2 separate regions of the Homo sapiens genome follow, and region 2 is linked to region 1. The links are contacts of gene promoters, found by promoter capture Hi-C in human tissues and cell types (Jung and others, 2019). All regions are on one chromosome and are shown on one strand. The core of a region is centred on a gene start or on the middle of the fragment in contact, and the rest is flanking DNA. Distances in the headings are between cores, read along the strand shown. Region 1 holds the start of LRP1 (LDL receptor related protein 1). Region 2 overlaps PTGES3 (prostaglandin E synthase 3).

Region 1 (3,732 bases), core at 522-3,021:
AAGACAGAGGAGGGGGTGTATGATGGTATCCAGCCCAGTTTTGTCTTTGGATGAGAGGGCTAAGATGACAGGAGGGGATGAGATCCCACCCCTTCTCAAATCAGGGACCTAGCCCAGCCCAACCCCATGACCCCAGCTTAATGCTTAAAGCTTGGGCAAGACTTGAACCAGTGACTCACAAGTAGGAGAAAAAAACAGCTGACAAAAAAAGGGAAGAGAGGCACCCCATTTCCCCAAAAGGATGCAGTTCTAGCCTAAGCCTAACTCTGCAATATACAAAGTGTGTGTGTATGGGGTTTTGGGCTTGGAGGGGTGCAGGGAATAAACAGATTTACTAAAGGAGTGTGGGGGCACAGCCATAATCCCCATCCAACCTCCAACTCTCCTTCCAATCCAAACTGTGATGAAGCCAGAAGTCAGGAAGAAGGCAGCCTCCCCCACCCTCCTACCCCAGCATTCCAGGCCATTCTCCAGTCCCCTTCCCCAGTGATGACATCTGACGTTTTTTCATCTCAAAGCTCCCAGGAATTAAGAAGGAAAATTCAAAGTCACATAGTATGGCGAGCTCCCCCTCTCTGCCCCCCAACACAGCCCTACCCCAGGCTACTGACAGAGGCCCTGAGAGGGGGAAGAGCCTACTTCAGCACCCAGGCCTCCAGCCGGGGCTCTGGGGTCGATTCCACGCCCAAGCAGGGGGCCCTCCCTCTCCCCACCCACAGCCTTCCCGGGCCTGCCTGCCCTCTGCCCGGCAGGGTACCCCTGGCCTGGCTCCCCTTTCGAGCTACAGAGGCCAGTGCAAAAGCCACCCCCCCCACCCCCACCCCCTTTTGCAGCCGAACATTGCAAATCCGGATTCCTTCACAATTCAGATGGGGGGTGGGGGGTTGTGAGGATGTAGGGGAGGCGGAGGCCCTCCCCGAACAGAGATAGGAAAAGAAGGCCTCTCCTCCCCAGGATCAGAAAAATGGGGAGCCCTCTTCTCTCTACCCAGGCCTCTGGTCTTTGTTTGTGCTGGGGGGCCCCGGAAGCATCATTTGCCCAGGGCCCCCATCCCCCAAATCGGACCCCATCCCCGCCCCCAGTCGGGCCGCTGCTGTGTCAGCTGGACTGGGATAACAAAAGGCACCCCCTCCCGCGTCTCCCTTCCCCATCCGTATGCAGGAGTGGGGGCTGGGGAGAGGGTGCCCCCAGGGGTCCAAGGGGGACGCGGAATCTCACTCACCGTCGATAGCCGCCGCGACCAGAGCTGAGAGCAGGGGCAGCAGCAGGAGCAACGGCGGGGTCAGCATGGTGTGGGCTGATGCAAGCAGCAGCCCCTTCCCCTCTGGTCCTGCTACTTCTCTCCTTCACCCCCCCCAGTTGGGGGGTCCCCCTTTTCCTCCTTTCCCCCTCCTCCTTCTCTGTTCTTATTCTTTCCTTCGGCAAAGCGCACCAGGGGCGTGGGTGAAGAGGTAGAGTTCCGAGCCCCTTGGGGAGGGCCTGCTGACGGGGGTGCGCCCCCTGCCCCGAAATCCAAACCCTTCACCCCACCCCCCCGCTTCACTCCTCGCTGCTCTTTCCCCCTCCCCGGGCGAAGCTCACAGCCCCATCTCGGAGCCGCCTCCGGCTGCAAAAATGCACAATTGGGAGGAGGCGGGGAGGGGGGGTGGGGGGCGTGGACCGGGTAGGGGAGCCTTTGGAGGGGGCTTGATGGAGCTCTGGGGGCTCCCCTTGTTTCCGCCTCCTCAGTGCATGGGCCTGGAGCTCGCACCGCTGTTCCCCGGACTGAAGTGCCGAGGGGGGGGCTGATGGGGGAGAGGGAGGGGACGGGTTGAGGAGGGAGGGAGGGAAGGGGCGGGGAAAGAAAAAAGGTTGGTGGGTGGGGGGAGAAAGAGCTACGCGGCAATCCAGTGAGTGCGCATGCGCCGATTTGACGCGCTGCCCGGGGGAGGGCGACGCGGACCCGCGACAGGGTTCGGAGTTCTGGAAAGCGGTCCAAGAGTGAGGGTCCCGGGGACTCGCTGGCTAGTTTGGGGCCTGGGGCGCCCTCTCCCCTGGCTGGGCCCTCCTCCCTGGTGCTCCAGAGAGCAGAAGGGGTCGAGGGTGGGATTGGGCAGTGGGCGGAGAGCTGAGCGGCTCCCCTTTGAAACTCAGTGTCATACTCTAGGATTTCAGGCTCCCTCCGGGGGCGTCCGGGACTCAGTGGTCTGGGCCGAGGCTCGATTTTCTAGGGGAACCCTGAAGGTGCCTCCTCTGCCCGGGGTGGGGACAGGGACCGCCAGTCCGCGGGGAAGGTGCAGGGAAAGGCTGAGCTTTGATTTGGAGACTTTGGAAGACCGGACTGGGATTGGGGCCTGCGAAGGAGGGGGCGGGGTTGGGGAGGGACCGCGAGGACCCGCCCCCACCTCGCTCCCGGGCTCGGAGTAAACAGGGACACCCGAGGGGACACGCCGGAGCTTGTCCGCCCGCGTGGGGCTCGGGGATGGAGCCCACCTTAGTACCCGCCCGCCCTGCTCGCCCAGCCCTAGGCGCGGGAGGGGCAGGCCCTGGTTTGGAGGGAGGTGAGTCACCAGCGGGTGGGGTTGAGGAAAGGCCACCCCCTTTCGCCCAAGAAGTCGGGGCTCATTTATTTTTCTGTTTTTTTTTTTTTTTTTTTTTTTAATACCTTCTGACTGGCTTGCCATCAAGTTAGGGTTTTAGATTCCGAGCGCCAGGATTTGGAATAAGATGAGGGACTCTGGACCTTCGTTTCCAGGCCTCGGGTTCCAAGGAGGTGTCTGCTGAGCGCCGGACCTTTGTCCCCAGGCTCAGCCCACACGGGAATGATACTTTGCAGAAGGCAGGCGCCAGGCGGTTCCCAGGGGCCAGTGAACGTGCTTTTGGTCACTGCCCCCTTCTGGGCGGCGTTTTATGGCTGTTACCTTAGTGTCTGACTTTCTAGGTGTCTGCATGTCAGAGTTCAAGGAGCGGGGCAGACGACGTCGGCTGCCAAAAATTGACGCTGGAGAGGAGGGACTGTTCCCCCTTTTACGTTCTAGTTACGGAAAAGTCCCCACTCCAGTCTGTCCTTGGCAGAAACAGGAGCAGCACGAAGGACTTGCCTCCTAATGACAGTGAGCTCAACCTTTAGCTTCTTCCAGCCGGCTTTGCTCAGCGCGGTGGCCACCTGCCTTTAGTCTCCTGGGCTAGAAACCTCAGACTTTATGCCAACTCAAGGGGGCCTTTCCTTCCTATATCCAATCTTGCCAGCCTGTGCTCCAGGCTTGTCATTTTTTTCCTCTGAAGTATATCTCAGATTTCCTCCATTTCCACTGCCAGAGAGTTGCTCCAGGCAGGAACGGGGTCTTATTTCTCCTTTTATCCAGCTCCCATGGCCCAACACAATGTGAGACGCACTATGCGGACTCACCAAATGCCTACGAGGTTCCTCCCAGGGCCCCTCCCAGTATTGGGATCCAAGTGAAATCAGGTCGAAACAGACTTTAGACAGCTTGACAGCTTTGAGAGGAAAACGGTATCTGGAGCAACCACATGTAGCCTGAGGGCTTGAAGGGGCTTTCCTCCCTCCCCCTACCCATCTGTCAGGTGAATCTTCCAAAAACTGCTTTCCCGGTGTCTCTTCCTTGCTGGGGAACCTCTAGTGGGTGTCTATAGACCAGTCAAATGTGAACTCCTCTTCAGTCATGGCTTTCCAAAACCTGGCCTCAGTCAGCATGCACTTCTCACTTGCAACCTCCCATCCCCTGCTGTCTC
Region 2 (3,732 bases), core at 918-3,417, 450 kb after region 1:
ATCTCAAAAATAATAAATAAATTAAAAATACCTATTTGTAATATGTGAGGAATGAGACATCAAAGTTCTGCTATGGAAAGGAAAAAAGTAGTTCCTGGAGTTCATAAATGGTTTTTCCTTCTTAGGTATCAAACACCTTGCCTATAAATGTCTGACACCAAGCTGTCTCCCACATACTCATTGCTCAGGGAAACCGTAAGATATTTGAGATCTTCTGTAATCAGCTGTAGTACTATAAAACTTTCTGAATAAACCTGCTAGTCCTGTGGCCTGTGGCTACCAAATCATGTGCCAAGATGTATCAGGGCCCCATGGAGGAACTCACAACTACCTTGGGATATTTTAAATTTCAGAGTAATTCAGTGATACTCAACATAAGCCAAGACACTAAGCAAACTATTAGTTTCAGGTTGTTCAGTTTCAATATGAGATTGTACTGCAAACCCCTCCATTAAGTTTCATCTTCTAAAAACTGAATTTCTGGTGGTTGCTATAACTCAAAAAAACACAGGTACCCACCCCACCAAAAAAAAATAATAATAATAATGGGGAACAAGGAGTGAGATGATAGAAGTCATTTCAAAGTTTGAGAAGTTATATAGTATCCAAAAGCCATACACATTCCATTGATAGGTATGGTTATATAAGAAACTATATATATTTTTCTTTCCAATAATGTAAATTCGTTTTTCCAATAGCTACTAGGCTGCTAAGACAATATAGTTATGTTGCTTGGATACAGCTATGTCATCAAAGCAACTGCTAGTTACTCCTTTTGGCTTAAGAGCACAACAAAACTCCTCAGACACCAAGGGCACTATATACCAGGAAGGCTTGTGAACCTCTGTCCTAGCGAGTTATTTTATGTGGTAGTTTCCACTCTAAGATACAAAGGTGAAAGCTGTTCAAGGTAATGTTTTATGGAAAATGTAGCACTTTTTTTTTTTTTTTTGGGTGGTGCGGAGAAGGAGTCTCACTCTGTCGCCCAGGCTAGAGTGCAGTGGCGCTATCTGGCTTACTGCAACCTCTGCCTTTCATGTTCAAGCAATTCTCCCGCCTCAGCCATCCTAGTAGCTGGGATCACAGGTGTGCACCACCATGCCCAGCTAATTTTTACATTTTTAGTAGAGACGGGATTTCACCACGGTGGTTGGCCAGGCTGGTCTTGAACTCCTGACATCAGGTGACCTGCTCACCTCAGCCTCCCAAAGTGCTGAGATTACTGCCATAAGCCACCGCACTTAGCCAGCACTATTTTTTTTTTTTTTTTTTTTTTTTTTGAGTCGGAATCTCACTCTCTCACCCAGGCTGCAGTGCAGTGGCACGATCTCAGCTCACTGCAACCTCCACCACCGGGTTCAAGGATTCTTGTGCTTCAGCCTCCCAAGTAGCTGGGACTATAGGAGCGCGCCACCATGCCTGTCTAATTTTTGTATTTTTAGTAGCGATGGGGTTTCACCATGTTGTCCAGGCTGACTTCAAGTGATTTACCTGCCTTGGCCTCCCAAAGTGCTGGGATTATAGGCATGAACCACCACGCATACCCACTTAGCACTTTTCTATCAAGCAACTCTTGTGGCTTTCCACATTCCGTCTTTTGAGCACTCTTTTTTTAAAAAAATTACTTTCTTGCTTTGGTTTTAGACCCTGAAGCATTCTTCTTTTAACATCCCCAGGAGATAAAAGAATTTTTCTTTGTTCAAGAAAGACTCAAGGTCAAATATCACTCTCTCACTGCCTCCATAACAAATTTTAGACTCTCAGGACTCCATTATCATGTTGTCAAGTATGCAGAAGCTAGTTTAGATTATATAATAAAACAAACTGGAAGTACAGAGACATGGTTAGTTACTTTGCAATAAAAGGACCGCTGGAGAAATTATTGTCCCTTTTTGTGAAGTGAAAAAAAATAAGCCTTCTGTCAGAAATGCTGGGTTCCAATCCTATTTTGGCTTTTTTTTTTTTTTTGGGGGGGGAGACACAGCCTCTCTCTGTTGCCCAGGCTGTAGTGCAGTGGCGTGATCTCGGCTTACCGCAACCTCCACCTCCACCTCCCCCTCCCCCTCCCCCTCCCAGCCTCCCAAATAGCTGGTATTACAGGCATACGCCACCTCGCCTGGCTAATTTTGTATTTTTAGTAGAGACGGGGTTTCTCCACGTTGGTCAGACTGGTCTCAAACTCCCAGCCCCAGGTGATCCATCAGCCTTGGCCTCACAAAGTGCTGGGATCATGGGCTTGAGTCACTGCGCCTGGTCTGCAGTTTTTGTGTTGTGTTTTGAGACGGAGTTTCACGCTGTTGTCCAGGCTGGAGTGCAATGGCGTGGTCTGGGCTCACTGCAACCTCCACCTCCTTATTTCAAGCGATTCTCCTGCTGCAGCATCCTGAGTAGCTGGGATTACAGGTGCCCATCACCACACCCAGCTAATTTTTTGTATTTTTAGTAGAGATGGGGTTTCATAATGTTTGCCAGGCTGGTCTCTGAACTCCTGACCTTAGGTGATGCACCCATCTCAGCCTCCCAAAGTGCTGGAGATTACAGGCGTGAGCCACCGCACTCGGCCCTGTTTGTAGTTTTAATGTGTTAGCCAACTTGTATAAAGGGTCAGCCAGTAAATATTCAGCTTTGCAGGCCACAAATATCTCTTATCTCATTCACATTTTTTTTTTTTTTTTTTTTGGTCTCATTCTGTTGCCTAGGCTAGAGTGCAGTAGTGTGATCTTGGCTCACTGCAACTTCCGCCTCCTGTGTTTTTTTAAAAATATACATTTAAAAAATGTAGGAATCATTTTTGGTTCATGGCCTAACCACAGGTTTTGATAATTTAAATTTGTTTTATCTGGGACATGATCATATAGCTTGCTAAGGCTTTTTTTCTTTTTCTTTTTCTTTTTCTTTTTTGAGACAGAGTCTTGCTCTGTCACCCAGACTAGAGTGCAGTGGCGTGATCTTGGCTCGCTGCAACCTCTACCTCCTGGGTTCAACTGATTGGCCTGGCTCAGTCTCCCAAATAGCTGGGACTACAGGTACGTGCCACCACGCCCAGCTAATTTTTGCAATTTTAGTAGAGACGGGGTTTTACTATATTGGCCAGGCTGGTCTCGAACTCCTGACCTCGTGATCCGCCTGCCTCTGCCTCCCAAAGTGCTGGGATTACAGGTGTGAACCAGCACTTTTTTTTTTTTTTTTTTTTTTTGAGACCGAGTTTCACTCTTGTTGCCCAGGCTGGAGTGCAATGGCCTGATCTCGGCTCACCGTAACCTCCACTTCCCAGGTTCAAGCGATTCTCCTGACTCAGCCTCCTGAGTAGCTGAGATTACAGGCATGCACCACCACGCCTGGCGAATTTTTTTTTTTTTTTTTTTTTTTTTTTTTGAGATGGAGTCTTGCTCTGTTGCCCAGGCTGGGGTGCGGTGGCCTGATCTCAGCTCACTGCAAGCTCCGCCTCCTGGGTTCATGCCATTCTCCTGTCTCAGCCTCCCGAGTAGCTGGGACTACAGGCGCCTACCACCATGCCTGGCTAATTTTTTGTATTTTTAGTAGAGACAGGGTTTCATCGTGTTAGCCAGGATGGTCTCAATCTCCTGACATTGTGATCCTCCTGCCTCGGCCTCCCAAAGTGCTGGGATTATGGGCGTGAGCCACTGTGCCCGCCTGAATTTTTTGTAATTTTAGCAGAGACGAGTTTCTCCGTGTTGGTCAGGCTGGTCTCGAATTCTCGACCTCAGGTGA

What was found. Contacts are between HindIII fragments. The study calls those that stand out against the background at their distance.
Region 2: a fragment that was not itself captured here is called in contact with the fragment with the promoter of LRP1 in region 1 in 1 of the 25 tissues and cell types used here (hippocampus).

The regions. Positions count from the first base shown.
Region 1 is chr12:57,126,522-57,130,253 of GRCh38, reverse strand. LRP1 (LDL receptor related protein 1) reads right to left here and starts at 1,771. Exons shown (of 89, transcript NM_002332.3): 1 at 1,223-1,771. The coding sequence starts at 1,289. RefSeq lists an enhancer at 2,111-2,764. The HindIII fragment of the contact is 3,919 bases long and covers 1-2,712 here.
Region 2 is chr12:56,674,469-56,678,200 of GRCh38, reverse strand. All of the region lies in intron 1 of PTGES3 (prostaglandin E synthase 3), which reads left to right. Among named protein-coding and RNA genes, the nearest start is that of PTGES3, 12 kb to the left of the region's middle. The HindIII fragment of the contact is 7,635 bases long and covers 1-3,732 here.